Linked DNA regions of Homo sapiens: regions 1, 2, 4 and 5 are each linked to region 3. The links are contacts of gene promoters, found by promoter capture Hi-C in blood cells and fetal thymus (Javierre and others, 2016). All regions are on one chromosome and are shown on one strand. The core of a region is centred on a gene start or on the middle of the fragment in contact, and the rest is flanking DNA. Distances in the headings are between cores, read along the strand shown. Region 1 has its middle 68 kb from the start of CSRNP3. Region 2 has its middle 45 kb from the start of CSRNP3. Region 3 holds the start of GALNT3 (polypeptide N-acetylgalactosaminyltransferase 3). Region 4 overlaps SCN2A (sodium voltage-gated channel alpha subunit 2). Region 5 overlaps SCN2A (sodium voltage-gated channel alpha subunit 2).

Region 1 (2,700 bases), core at 168-2,667, 390 kb after region 3:
TAGTCAGGTTTCGTCTAATCCAGCTATCTTTACATGTGGCCGACTCACCTTAGACCACTACCCTCTTATACTCCCCTCCACTTGAATGTGGGCAGAATGTGTGACTTGCTTCCAGCTGATAGAATACGACAAAAGTGAAGGGATTTTGCAAATGTAATTAAGGTGCTGAAACAGTTTGATTTTGAGTCAGTCTAAAGGAGATTATACTGGATAGCCTGACCAAATCAAATAAGCCTTTTAAAAGAGGGTTTAGGTCTTCCCTGAGCTCAAAGACTTGATGCAGTGAAACTCTCCTGGGTCTTGAAGAAACTAACTGCCATGGGTTCTAAAGCTGATGGAAACGAATTTTACCATCAGCTGCTTAAACTTGGAAGAGAACTCCAAGGTTCAGATGAGCTTCCAGTCCTGGCTGACATTGTGATTGCAGCCTTGTGAGACTGAGAAGAGGGCCCGGGTAAGCTGTACCCAGACTCCTGACCCAAAGAAACTGTAGGATAATAAATACTGGATGTGTTGTCTGGGCCTCTGCATGTGTGGTTATTTAACAATTGAAAACCAGTATGCTATAATAAATAACAATATCTGAAGATTATGTCATAAAGATGACAAAAGGATATCCATTTGTTTGTTTTTAAAATGAATAAACTGAGACACCTTAGAAAATATATACAGTATATGATTTCTTATATTGACTACAAAGTAGGTTCTGGTATACATCCAAACCTTTCTAAAGAAAAGCCTAGGATTAAGCTTATGTTTCTGGATTTTTGGACTCTCTTCCCAAGCCACGTATTGATTCTTGCCCCAAACTACCTGCACTAAAACGCCTGCTTCTTATTTTATGGAGGACTTAGTAGTGACATCATTCTGGTTTTGCTCCGAGGATAAGCTTTATAGTCTTTATCAGCTGGCTCCTGAGCAAGGATTTGCTTCCTATTAGTATGCCTTGGGAAATGCTGACTGCTGACTTTATAAATAACCCAAGAATGACTTTACAATGCTATAATTCTATGGATTTAATCAGATTGTTTTGGATCAGATTTACTTTAGGGACTATGTTTTCCTTGGCTAATTTTTCTGTTACATTTGCAATTTTGTTGTGAACAGTGGCAGAAACACATTCCCTTTGTAGGGAGAATAACTTATTGTGTGAATTTGGAGCTGAAAATAAGTGTTCCACACATGAGCATGCACGACACTTCCTGTGTTACTCTCTTAAAACCCTTGGCCACAGGATCTCTGGTATATGATGAGTTAATTATTTTATTCCTGATGCACCTTCAAGAAATGTAGCTTTACTAAGTGATGAATTATTTCTGAATTAGAGACAGAATTTAAGACACGTGCTGAGTTAGACAACCAAATTTTGCCGTGCTCATGAAAATGTGGATAAACACTTTCAAGACTCTCAAGTACTTATAGTGATAAAGTTACTTGAAACTCTCTATTGATATGAATACTTCAACACTTTGCTCATTCAGTTTTATGTTAGTCGCTGAGATCCTTTCCATTAACCATGTCTTTAGGTTCATAATTTGCTCATGTTTGTTTAATTTTTGCACTATGAGATCTATGCCCAAGGAAAGAAATCTTTTCTCAGTACAAATGCTTCACAAACTGTTTTTTCTTGAAGAGACACATTCAAATGTAAACATTATTTTTCCAGCAATGTTTCCAAAGTGGATATTTACTTTAATTGTTTTACACCTAAAATAGTTGCAAAATAAGCAGAAAATGTATTTGCAAGGCTAACTGCCCTTCTTCCACCAGCCGAATTTACGAGTCATGTTTCTTAATGGAAGCATCGCCCTCTAGTGGATAGGGTTGCAATAATAACTTACTTTTCCCACATAACTACCTTTGTGTGAAATTCAAATAACATAACCATTTTAAAGTGTACAATTCATTAGTATTTATTGTAGCCACATGTGCAAGTACAAGCTTTCTGTAGTTTCACGTTTTTATTACTCCAGAAAAAATCCCATAACCATTAAGTAAGCACTTCCTATTCGGCTGTCCTCCCACCCCCAGTAACCTTTAATCTATTTTTATTTTATTTATTTATTTTTTGAGACAGGGTCTTGGTCTGTTGCCCAGGCTGGAGTGTAGTGGCAGGAACAAGGCTCATTGAAGTCTCAACCTCCTGGGCTCAAGGAATCCTCCCGCCACAGCCTCCCAAGTAGCTGGAACCACAGGCCCCCACCACTATAACTGGCTAATTTTTGTAGAGATGGAGTTTTGCCATATTGCCCAGACTTGTCTGGAACTCTTGAGCTCAGGCAACCCTCCCCACCTGGCCTTCCAAAAGTGCTAGGATTACAGGTGTGAGCCACTACGCCCAGCCTAACCTACTTTCTATCTCTATTGATTTGCCCATTCTGGGTATATAAGAGTAATCACATAATATGTGATTTCTTGTGTGTGGCTTTTTACACCTCTCATAATGTCTTTGAGATTCATCCAAATTGTAGCATGTATCAATACTTCATTTCTTTTATGATTGAATAAGTCATATGAATATACCACAATTGTTTATTCATCCATTGCTGGGCACTTGGTTATTTCCATCTTTTTTTCTATTATGAGTAATGTTGTTATAAATATTTGTGTACAGGATTATATTAGACATATGTTTCCATTTTTCTTGGGTGTATACCTAGGAGTAGAATTCCTGGGTCATAGGATAATTCTGTGTTAAAC
Region 2 (2,700 bases), core at 99-2,598, 370 kb after region 3:
AAATCTCTGACCCCTTTATGCTCCCCAGATATTGAGCTAATATCAAAGTCCCAATCCTCTCATCACATGGTTGGTCTTTCTGGTGTTGCCAGTACCTGTCCCGAGTCATCTCATTAGTATAAAACATGTAGAGTCCACCATGAGTTACCTCACTAGTATAAACAAGGTCTACCATGAATACCATAAACACTCCTGTCACTCAGGAAATTCCAAGGATTTTGAGGCTACTTCTCATAAACTGGGGATGGAGACCAGCCAAATTCTTTATTATACTACAGAGATCAAACGCATAGGCACTGAAATATAGACACCTGAATATGCATGTTTTGCATGAATAAATACTTCTAGTCAGGAGTGGCTTGACTCCAAAGTATTTTGAAACATAAAATAAATAATAAGTCCAGAAAAGCAGTTTGGGAACATTTTATCGGAGATCTTTGAAAATAGCCTAAATATTTTATTCTTTTAATAACAGCAAATCTTTACCTATAACTGTATATATTTGTTACCATACTGCTTTAACCTGAATTCTATTTTAGTAAGATTATGGCAATTCAAAAGATGTCAGGAAGAAGAATGTGGTTTAACCATGTTTCTTAAAAATCTAACTTATATATTATTTGCAACTGGGCCAGTGAAAATTCTCTGAGACTAACAGCTTAACCAAAATAACAAGAGCTGCCCTCATGCTTCCATACAAGTCAGTATCTGACTTCTTAGTTCTGATTACCTATTTAGCTCCAACCCTGGATTCTACATCTGCTTTTGTCTCTGCTAGTCAGTTATCCATTTTGTTTTCTGACTCAATTTTTCTTTAGGATTTCAGCTTTACGGATCCTCCCTAAAATAGTTTTTTGCACCTCAACTATCAATGTTCATTCTGACCCTTCAGCTTGCGTATAGGTGACCTCTCACAATTCCATCATAACCAGCTGCCTAATTATATCCTCCTATTATCAAGTTGGCCATGAAGGACAAGAAATAACTAGTTCCATAATAATGCATTAATTTCTGCATTCTTGCATTTTTCTTATATGCCTGCTCTTTCACTCCCTTACAGCTCTCAGCTCTCAGTCACATAGTGTTATTTCTGCCCTGGCACACTGCTTGGCCATGGCATGATGCATTGTATACAATGAGCACACTAATTCTATCACAATATCTGCATACTAACTACTTCGGCTGAATTGACTATTATACTAATCTACTCTATTCCAAAAAACAGGGGTCTTTAGAATTGTGGTATACAATAAAGAAAACAGCATCTGGCCTGGCTTTGAGAGATTCTGTACATGACTTAATTGCTAGGTACTAAGTGATAAATATGAACAAACAAGCTCATAAAACTTATAGACTAATGGCTTAGAAGTTGCTTCATTATAAACAATATCAGTTAACTACTAAACACATTCATATTACACACATCTACTTAATTATAGTCTACTAATATACTACTATATTGTGTATATTATAAAGCATATATAAACTGGAAAATAAAAAGGATAAATTAAATAATACTTGTATATTCTTCAAAATTTCTACTGTTTTTGGCTAACTTCTTATTAGATTTATAATATGGTTTGGATCTGTGTCCCCACCAAATCTCATGTTGAATTGTAATCCCCTGTGTTGGATGTGAGGCCTGGTGGGAGGTGATTGGATCACAGAGATGGAGTTCTCACGAACGGGTTAGCACCATGCCCTTACTGCTGTTCTTGTGATAGTGAATGAGGGAGTTCTTGTGAGATCTGGTTGCTTTAAAGTGTGTAGTGCCTACCCCTGCAACCCCCATGCTCTCTTTCCTGCTCCAGCCACGTAAGACATTCCTGCTTCTCCCTTCACCTTCCACTATGATTATAGGTCTCCTGAGGCCTCCTCAGAAACCAAGTAGAGGCTATCATATTTCCTGTACAGCCTGTATAATCATACGCCAACTAAACCTCTTTTCTTTAAAAATTACTCAGCTTCTGTTATTTCTTTATAGCAATACAAGGATGGAGTAATACAGAAAATTGGTACCAAGAAGTGGGACATTGCTTCAAAGATACTTGAAAAGGTGGAAGTAGTTTTGGACCTGTGTAACAGGCAGAGGTTGGAACAGTGTGGAGGGCTCAGAAGATAGGAAGATGAGGTAAAATTTGGAACTTCCTAGAGGCTTGTTAAATTATTGTGACCAAAATGCTTATAGTGGTATATACAATGAAGTCCAGGCTGAGGAGGTCTCAGATGGAAATGAGAAACTTATTGGGAATTGGAGCAAAGGTCACTTTTGTTATGCATTAGCAAAGAGGTTGGGTGCATGGTGTCCCTGTTCTAGGGATCTGTGGAACTTTAAACTTGAGAGTGGTGATTTAGGGTATGTGGTGGAAGAAATATGAAAGCAGTGAAGTGTTCGAGATGTAGCCTGCCTGCTTCTAACAGCCTTATCTCATATGTGTGAGCAAAGAAATGTCTTGAAACTGGCAACTTATATTTAAAAAAGAAGCAGAGAATAAAAGTTTGGAAAATTTGCAGCCCGGCCATGTGGTAGAAAAGAAAAGCCGATTTTCTGTGGAGAAATTCAAGCAGGCTGCAGAAATTTGCATAACTAAAAGGAAGCCAAGTACTGATAGCTAAGACAACAGAAAGGAAATGGCCTCCAAGGCATTTCAGAGGCCTTCCTGGCAGCCCCTCCCATCATCAGCCCGGAGGTCTAGAAGA
Region 3 (2,700 bases), core at 58-2,557:
AAACCCTAACTCATAGATGTCCTAGTATAAAATAGCACTATGGATGCTAAAACCAATGTCTTAGAGTAGTCAAATACTAAAGATACACTTGTTGATACTATACTAAACTGTATTTTAAACCTTATTTTTAGGTCACGCATAGCACTAATAAAACAGTGAATAAGCACCATAAGAGCATGTCAAAATGTAGGAGGAAGGCCACAACTAAACTTCATAGTAAAACCTACCACCATGTGATTAAACACGACACCAAAAAGTTTTTAGCTAGTTTTCTATTTATATCCCTAGATATCTTTGGGATAGGGCCAAAGAAATGAGTTCATAGAAAGGTATAAAGGCCATTTTAAGTCCTGGTTTTGGGTGTGTCAATGTTTGTTGCAGCAGCAGAAGGAAGGCTGAAACAGAAAGTTGTGTCATAAATGGAACAAATACTGTTTAACAATTTTTTTTTGTCTTAAAAACAGCAAAACCCACCATCTTCCTGGAGTCTGCGTTGTTCTCTTCCAGAATAGATGTTGAGCTTTTAAACAAACCTGCAGTAGAAGCAAGCCCTCTCCAGGAAATCCCAATCTCTTTCCAAACAGGGACAGCAAAGGTTCTCTCTGTTGTGGCTGTTTTTCCCTCTCTTCTGGGAATTGGTTTGCCTTCTGAGAGCATCCCAGGAAGGGGAGGTGCGCCCCAAATTGGCGAGGCTCTGCCAAATACCAAAGGCTCTTCTTTGGAAGAAGACTCCTCCTTTGGACGTGAGGCGCCCCTACCAGAGCGCCCGCGTACAGAAACGGAAACCACTAGCTGCGCTGAAGTGAGTCAAGTGATGAAATCAAGACTACACGGGAAGGAAGCTCACGAAACCTAACTGGTGACAGAAGCTGCTGAACCCTGCCCGAAGAAACCACATGAGCCAGCAGTTGCTGCCCTCCCGAAGTGGTCCTCGGAGGCAGCGCACCCCTTCATTTTGGCGAACCGAGGAGGAAGGGAGGAACCGTGTGGGGGAAATCTAGAACTTCTGGTTCCCCAAGGACCCAGCAGACTGTGTTCTGGCTACAAGGTGATCACTGCCACCAGGTCAGTGCAGGATTCCTCCAATGTAGATGGGCCGGGAGCCACAACTTGCGCGGAGCAGCAGCCTCGCCGACCACTCAGAGAGAAGCCGCGCGACAGCCAGGCTTGGCCCGGACGGCGCCCCCACCCTGCGCGCGCGATCCAAGGTTCTCACCTGGAGCGCTCAGGTAGGGCTGGGGCGGGGCGGGAGGCTGGCGCGCAGGCGCGGAAGTGGGGCCTCGCCCCTGCCGACGTCGCAGGCTGGAGCTCACCTGGGAGACTCCAAGTGGAAGCCGAGCCTCGGTTCTGCCTCTCCAGGCAACGCGGGAGGCCCAGCGGGAAGGCAGGAGGCGGCGGCGGAGGAGGAGCTCTACTGAGCCGCAACTGTGGCGACAGCAACCGGAGTCGCAGCCGCCGCCACCTGCACCTGGCGCCTAGCCCACGTCCAGCGCCTGCCCGGCCGCCGCTTCCCGCCACCCTGCCCTGCCCACCCGCCAGGTAAGCCGGCGGCAGGCGGAGGGAGACGCGGTACCCCTGGGCTGCGTTAGAGCAGGCGGGAGGACGGCCGCAGGGGTTCACGTGTTGGGGACAGGGCTACGGTCCAGGTGGCCGGTTGGAGACGGTCTCGAGAGCAGTGTGTCGGTTGCCCCTGGAGAGATCCCGAAAGGGGCGCCCTGGGCCAAGGGGCAGGTGGCGCCTCGGGGGGGAGCCCGGTCACACCCTCTCGCCCACGGTGCCCCCGCCAGTCCCTATGGGGCGGCCCCTGAGGAGCTGGACGGAGACCAAAGACCTGGTGGCCCCGGACTTGCCCTTGGGAGGGTCGCAGCGTGGGGACCCTGAGAGGGAGGGCCCGGCGGGAGGCGGGCGCGCTTCCACTCCGGCTAGCAGGTTGCCTGTCTCCTCCAGCCTCTCTGCCCGAGAGGACATCCCGCGACAGCGAAAGACATGGCTTTGCCAGGCAACTTTCCTAGCCGGGGACCCCAAACAGTTCTAGGCTGCAAACCGCGGCCGCCGAGCCATTTAAATGGTTTCCGAGTGGTTTGGAAAGGGCTCTGTGGCCGGGACGCGGACACCCCTCTCTCTCTGTTTCGACTCTGCACTTTTCCGGGTGCGCTCTCCAGGCCAGAGTTGGGCCCACTTTCCTGATCAATGGAGAAGAGTTCTTTTCTTCCGTGGCGGGAAGAAATCCAACTGCCACGCACCAACCACTCACCATCTCGTTAGAGGACCTGTTGACTTAAGGACCTGCATATCGCGGCTATGGTTTGCCTGTGGCATATGACTCAAAGGTTCAAAAAAACATTGTTTCAGGATCCTGCCACGTCTAAGCTTGGGTGTGCCAGGCCCAGATTCCTTTCCCTGCCTAATTAGGCTTTTCTGAAGCCTAAGAATTGAGGGTGAAACTGGCGCTTACCTTAGACTTTTATTTCCTTCTCTTTCCAACTCATCAAAGAAACTATTTCTGTTTTAAGAACCCCATCGAGTTACCAATATTTCCGATTCTTGAAAACGTTAACATAACTTGCTATAGAAGTTACACTACATAATGAAGACATTTACAGTCAAATTCTATAGCTAAAAAATATTAAAGTGACAGCATTTTAATTAGAAAATCTCTGCTTGTGGGAAAATCTGTTGCTTCTTTTATTGTATATATTT
Region 4 (2,700 bases), core at 80-2,579, 420 kb after region 3:
TGACCAGCATAATTTTGTTTCTAAGGAAATACAGCAAAATGGAAAATATCAGGAATATTGTAAAACTGCTATTCTTCGATGAGATTTTATTTGTGTATGTGAGTTTAGTTAACAGTGATGTAAAATTATATTTTTAAAATTTTTAAAAGACAATATACATACAGGAAAGTGCATAATACATAAATGCAAAATATAATATGTTTTATAAGTGAAATCCATAACCCAGGACATTGCTACAACTTCAGAAACCCTTGGTGTACCCTTCTCAAACATAAACTCCATCATCCCTGCTGGAGGTAATCATTATCCTGACTTTTATGGTAATGATGTCCCTGCTTTTTCTTTCAAGTTAACACCTCAGTATGCAGTTTTGAACAATAAGCTTAGTTTTGTCAATTTCGAACTTTATATAAGTAGAATTATAGTATGTGTCTAGTTTCTTTAACTCAATGTTGTATTTTTAAGGCTCATCCATGTGGTTGTATATGGCGGTATTCATTCATTTTCATCACTATATAGTATTCAATTATTTGCCTATTTCTACTGTTTTTGAGTTGCTCCCAGTTTTTTGCAAGTGCAAAAAAAAGTTATATTCATTTTTGTACATAGATTATCCTAAACATGTGCATAAGTTTCTTTAGGATACGTTGTTCAAAGTAGAATTGCAGTATTAAAAAATATCTTTAACTTTCTCAAATAATGTGATCATACCCAACTGTTTTTAAAGGATTATTTAACTATTTTTTTTCCTATCAGCATTGTACGAGTGTTCTTATTGCTGTTTATCCTTGGTAAAACTTGGTATTGTCAGACTTTTTGGTATTGCCAATCTGGTAGGTGTGTAGATAATGTTTTATTTTGGTTTAAATTTGCATTTATCTGATGCAATTTACTAATTAAAGTTCAAGATCCAGCAACTTTTCATAAATGTAGTGCTCAATTGGCTTTCATCTTTTGTAATGTGCTGGAAATTCCAGGAGTTTTGCAGCGGAAAAGGTCTGCTAAGTTATTAAAGAAGAAACTGAAAATGTTTCATGGCATATAAGCTATTGATAAGGAAGGTGGAGAGAGCATTGAATTAATTAATCAAAAAGGTAAGAACCACTGTGGAAAGTGGGTATGAGCCATTATTTGTGGTCAGGGTTCAAAAACTTGTTTTCCCATTTAACGCATTAAGCCTCTTTGCTTCAGTAGTAAAATAGAGCTAGTATCACCTATACAATAAGGTTGTCATTTAGGATTAAATGGGATAATGTGAGAAAGTCCTTGGCACAGTGAATAGTGATAATCAATAAATTATTATTACTATTCAGAAAAATCTCATAACTGGAATTCCTGATAGCACTTATAGAGATACAATGCAGGGCTTTTCATGCTTTCTTGCTCCCTCTCTGTTTTTATGAAGTGGAAAAAAGAAAAAAAAAAACCTCAGGAATTCTTCACTCAGAAAGCTAGCTGCTGGTGCTAGGGAAAGAGCATTTTGAGCTTTATTATCATGCTCTGGCATACCAGAAATCAATCTCTTTTTTTTTTTTTTTCAAAATGTGACTTCATTCCTCATTAAATAGTGAGAAATTAATGAAAATTATAGAAAAGAATTCAAAGTACTGGTATGTATAAAGTAGATTAGGGAAGTCCCTCCCTTCTACCACTTAATCTCACTTTCCCAAGAGAAACACTAAATTGTTTATTTTTGTCCCCGTTTTTAGTCATATCCTTCCTATTATAAGGAAGATCAAAAGCTGGAGGAAATATATTACAGATAAAAAATATTGCCTGTGAGAACTTCTAATGCACAAATGACCAGGACTATCAGAGCCAAAAATAAAATGTCTCATTTTGAAAATACATACAATAAAGTTTTGTGTCAGGTGCCTTGCTAAATACTAGAAAAGATATGTTAAAAGATACAGAGTGATTAGAGAAAATCATCCTATGATAATTTTGAAAGAAATAGTATGATTAAATATTTTATCCTTATAATATAGATGGGTTTTATAAATTAAGCACATAATTTTATTTTATTGACAATATCACTAAATTACAATATTGTAGAAATATACATTTAATCAAACTAAACAATTTCCCTCTAACTAGACTTACATTTCGTGAATCAACAGCTGCATACATAATATCCATCCATCCCTTAAACGTGGCCTGTAAGAAAAGTCATATCATTTTCTTTTTTCCCAAAATTATAATTTTAGAAAATAAATTGAATAATTGATCAAAATTCTATTTGACATGTATTCAATACAGGCATATAAATAAGCTTGAAATTTGTATTCACTTTTGGGGCAATGTTTTGCGATATGCATTGAAAATACTTCAAATTTATATTCCTCTATAACATCTTATGTGGATATTTAGCATATATAATTAAATAATGATCTACTGTAACAATATGCTATCATAAAAACAATATGAACAATCTTTGACTCTGATGTGTTTATATAAAAATATATCATGAACTTTGATGAAAAAATTTCATGTGTATAGTAGCAGCATGAGACAAGCTCAAAAGTATGCTGCATTATTTATCTTAATGCTTCCTTTCTACTTATTCTTTTCTAAATGATTATTACACCAATCACCAATCATGACAGCTTATTCTTGAAAATCTTCTTAATATTGTTGATCATACTATTTTGAGGTGATTACTCTATAAGAGGAAGCAGTTTCCTAATCTGAAAACAATAT
Region 5 (2,700 bases), core at 122-2,621, 440 kb after region 3:
ACTATGTAATTTGGATTTCCGGAAACACTGATAATTTATTCCTAAAATCAACAATTATCCCAATATATTTAAATATGATTTTATTTTTGTGCCTTTGTACCATTTTTTGTACCTAGATAACTGGACAAATCAGACAAAAACGTATTTATTGCTGGATGAAAAGTCCCAATTTTTATTAAGACAATTATGGCTACTATAATTATACAATAGTGAGAAATACTATAAAATGGTTATTATACAATAATTATGATGTTATTGTTGAATTAAAGATTGTGGAGTTGAAGTATTGCCATGAATAAGGACAGTAATCAGTCTGCAAATTGGGTCTTTAAAAATAGGCTCCACCAGTATGAATGAGTGAAAAGATTCATGACATTAAACTCACTATTGTGGAAAAAAAAAAAAAGACAACTTACGAAGAAATCAGACATTCTCAGGGGTACAAGACTGAGTCATATAATTTTTTTTCAGGATTTGATTGACAATATCAATGAATTCCTGATTATTTAAGCACACATAACATACAGAACAAAAGAAAGATATAGCAGTAAAGGGGGGCAAATGCACAAAGTAAATACAAGTTGCATATCCCTTATTTGAAATGCTTGGGGCCAGAAGTGTTTTGGATTTTAGATTTTAAAATATTTGCATGTACATAATGACAAGTCTTGAGAATGAGACACATGTGTAAACATAAAATTCATTTAAGTTTCATACACATACACATAGCCTGAAGGTAATATTATACAATATTTTTAATAATTTAGTTCAGGAAACAACATTTTGACTGTGGTTTAACTGCGATTCATTACAGGAGGCCAGATGTGAATTTTCCTCTTGTAGTATCAGGTTGGTGCTCAAAAGCTTTGAACTTCCGAGCATTTTGGATTTCAAATTTTCAGATTAGGGATGCTCAAACTGTAGTACAAAAGTAGAATCTTAGGAAAATTTTTAAGTAAAACTTCAATAAAAAGGATTCTACATTCTTGCTATATTCTCATGCTTCTATCATGCTAATGAGGCTTACAGCACCTTTGTCTAATTAGTTGTAAGTTAGTCTAACCAATGGTGATTTTTTTTAAAGTAAAAATATGTAAGATCCAATGAAGACCACGTTTGATTTTGAGAGTGTACTGACAATCTGTCAGTCTCTATACTATGACTCCTGATAATCACATTAAGACCAGACCTGCTCCTTTGCCTCTGGAATTTACCAATAAAATTATGTTTTATTGTAATTTGCTTTTGAACTTATTATTTGGATTAAAAAAACAGACAAAGGAAGAAAAAATTGCATGTAAAATTTTTATTTTATCTATTTTGGTGCTATTTCCTAGACTTATTTTCCTAAAGTATATTAAAGTTCTGTCATTTGTCTATTTGGAAATTTTTCTTGATACACATCCATCAATCCTTCCCCAGGGCGGGAGCCAATTATATTGCCTCTGTACTGGACAAATACTCTATTTACAAATGTCATTTACTGTGACATTTATATAGCCTGCTCCCATTTCTCATTCTGTCCTGTTAAATTTCTCATCCACATCCCTATCACATTATATTGGATTCTTTAAAAAAAAAAAAAAAACAAGCACAGCTTTACTGATAGATTGGGAGATCTTTTGGTCAGAAACATGCCTTAGAGCCAAGTCCTAGAGCAGTATCAATACCAGATCATAATAACAATAAAAGTAAAACCAGCTTTTTAGTTGAGCTCTTAGTAAATACCAGTTATTGTGCAAAGCATTTTCAAGGTTTATGTGATTTATTTCTCACAACTCTATAAGGCAGGAATTATTACTATTTTACAGATGAAAATGCTTCTGCACAACTTACATGACTTGTCCAAGACCACAGTTAATAAGTAGAGAAGCTTTTTTTTTTTTGAAAGTCTAACTACAAGGTCTTTTCTCCTAATTGTGATGTTTGCAGAATAAGTGAGGAAACAGTATTCCATGTTTACTCTTACCGATACTTCCTTTCTTTGAACTGCTACCATATTTAGTCAGTATAATAGGGTTTACTATTAATTTTCGAATTGTTTCTCTGATCTTTTATGAATTGATAACTCAATTCAATGCTATTCCACTGTCAGGAAAATAAATAAATATCCCTGGAACATATGACTTTTCTTTCTCATAAATCCATTGAAGTTTTTATTTTTTTTAAAGCAGCCAATCTACCCGTGGTGACACAGTTTTGAAACCGCGTTTATTAATACCCACTAGACACTAACTTTCATCAGCATGTTTATCTTAGTTCTATAGATTACTTGACATAGAGGAGCACATATTTTAGAATTCGAGTGCTAGGTAAGAATCGATTTTCTGTTACCTACTAAGTAGCATAACCAATCTGAGCCTCAGTTTCCTCATCTATAAAATAAATGTAATCGTTTTTCTAGTGCCCAGCTTACAAGGTTGTTGAAAGGATTCAGTGACAGAATTCATGTGGCTTTCAGCACAGTTCTTGGCACATAGTGAACCTTTGAGAAAGTTTAGCTGTTATCACTTACTATTATCCAACTTATCCTCCACAACACTATCTTTTTATTTACCTTATTTCCCTAGAAATATTTGTGTGAGTCAAGTTATTCTCTTTTTCTGGACTTCCTTTGTTACCGAAGGGTATGCGCATAACAGCTGGCACAGGTGTTTGGTGTGATCCATGACAATTTAAGAAAACAGTTCAGGCCGGGCG

The links. The method cuts DNA at HindIII sites, captures the fragments that hold promoters and counts their contacts. A CHiCAGO score of 5 or more calls a contact.
Region 1: a contact is called between a fragment that was not itself captured here and the fragment with the promoter of GALNT3 in region 3, in 12 of 17 cell types (naive B cells, monocytes, total B cells and 9 more). The highest score is 8.8, in naive B cells.
Region 2: a contact is called between a fragment that was not itself captured here and the fragment with the promoter of GALNT3 in region 3, in 1 of 17 cell types (erythroblasts). The highest score is 5.0, in erythroblasts.
Region 4: a fragment that was not itself captured here is called in contact with the fragment with the promoter of GALNT3 in region 3 in 2 of 17 cell types (endothelial precursors and megakaryocytes); the score reaches 6.1 in endothelial precursors.
Region 5: a contact is called between a fragment that was not itself captured here and the fragment with the promoter of GALNT3 in region 3, in 1 of 17 cell types (non-activated CD4 T cells). The highest score is 5.0, in non-activated CD4 T cells.

Annotation. Positions count from the first base shown.
Region 1 is chr2:165,400,593-165,403,292 of GRCh38, reverse strand. No RefSeq gene overlaps it. Among named protein-coding and RNA genes, the nearest start is that of CSRNP3, 68 kb to the left of the region's middle. The HindIII fragment of the contact is 1,052 bases long and covers 892-1,943 here.
Region 2 is chr2:165,423,260-165,425,959 of GRCh38, reverse strand. No RefSeq gene overlaps it. Among named protein-coding and RNA genes, the nearest start is that of CSRNP3, 45 kb to the left of the region's middle. RefSeq lists an enhancer at 2,341-2,700. The HindIII fragment of the contact is 3,027 bases long and covers 1-2,700 here.
Region 3 is chr2:165,792,854-165,795,553 of GRCh38, reverse strand. It overlaps GALNT3 (polypeptide N-acetylgalactosaminyltransferase 3), which reads left to right and starts at 1,307. Exons shown (of 11, transcript NM_004482.4): 1 at 1,307-1,539. It overlaps LOC124906086, which reads right to left and starts at 1,968. Exons shown (of 6, transcript XM_047446887.1): 1 at 1,762-1,968; 2 at 1,217-1,635; 3 at 475-754. The coding sequence starts at 1,968. RefSeq lists silencers at 1,365-1,514, 1,585-1,674 and enhancers at 745-1,650, 1,651-2,557. The HindIII fragment of the contact is 5,078 bases long and covers 1-2,372 here.
Region 4 is chr2:165,377,054-165,379,753 of GRCh38, reverse strand. It overlaps SCN2A (sodium voltage-gated channel alpha subunit 2), which reads right to left. Exons shown (of 27, transcript NM_001040142.2): 23 at 2,104-2,157. Among named protein-coding and RNA genes, the nearest start is that of CSRNP3, 91 kb to the left of the region's middle. The HindIII fragment of the contact is 1,890 bases long and covers 385-2,274 here.
Region 5 is chr2:165,350,760-165,353,459 of GRCh38, reverse strand. All of the region lies in intron 16 of SCN2A (sodium voltage-gated channel alpha subunit 2), which reads right to left. Among named protein-coding and RNA genes, the nearest start is that of SCN2A, 110 kb to the right of the region's middle. The HindIII fragment of the contact is 1,009 bases long and covers 867-1,875 here.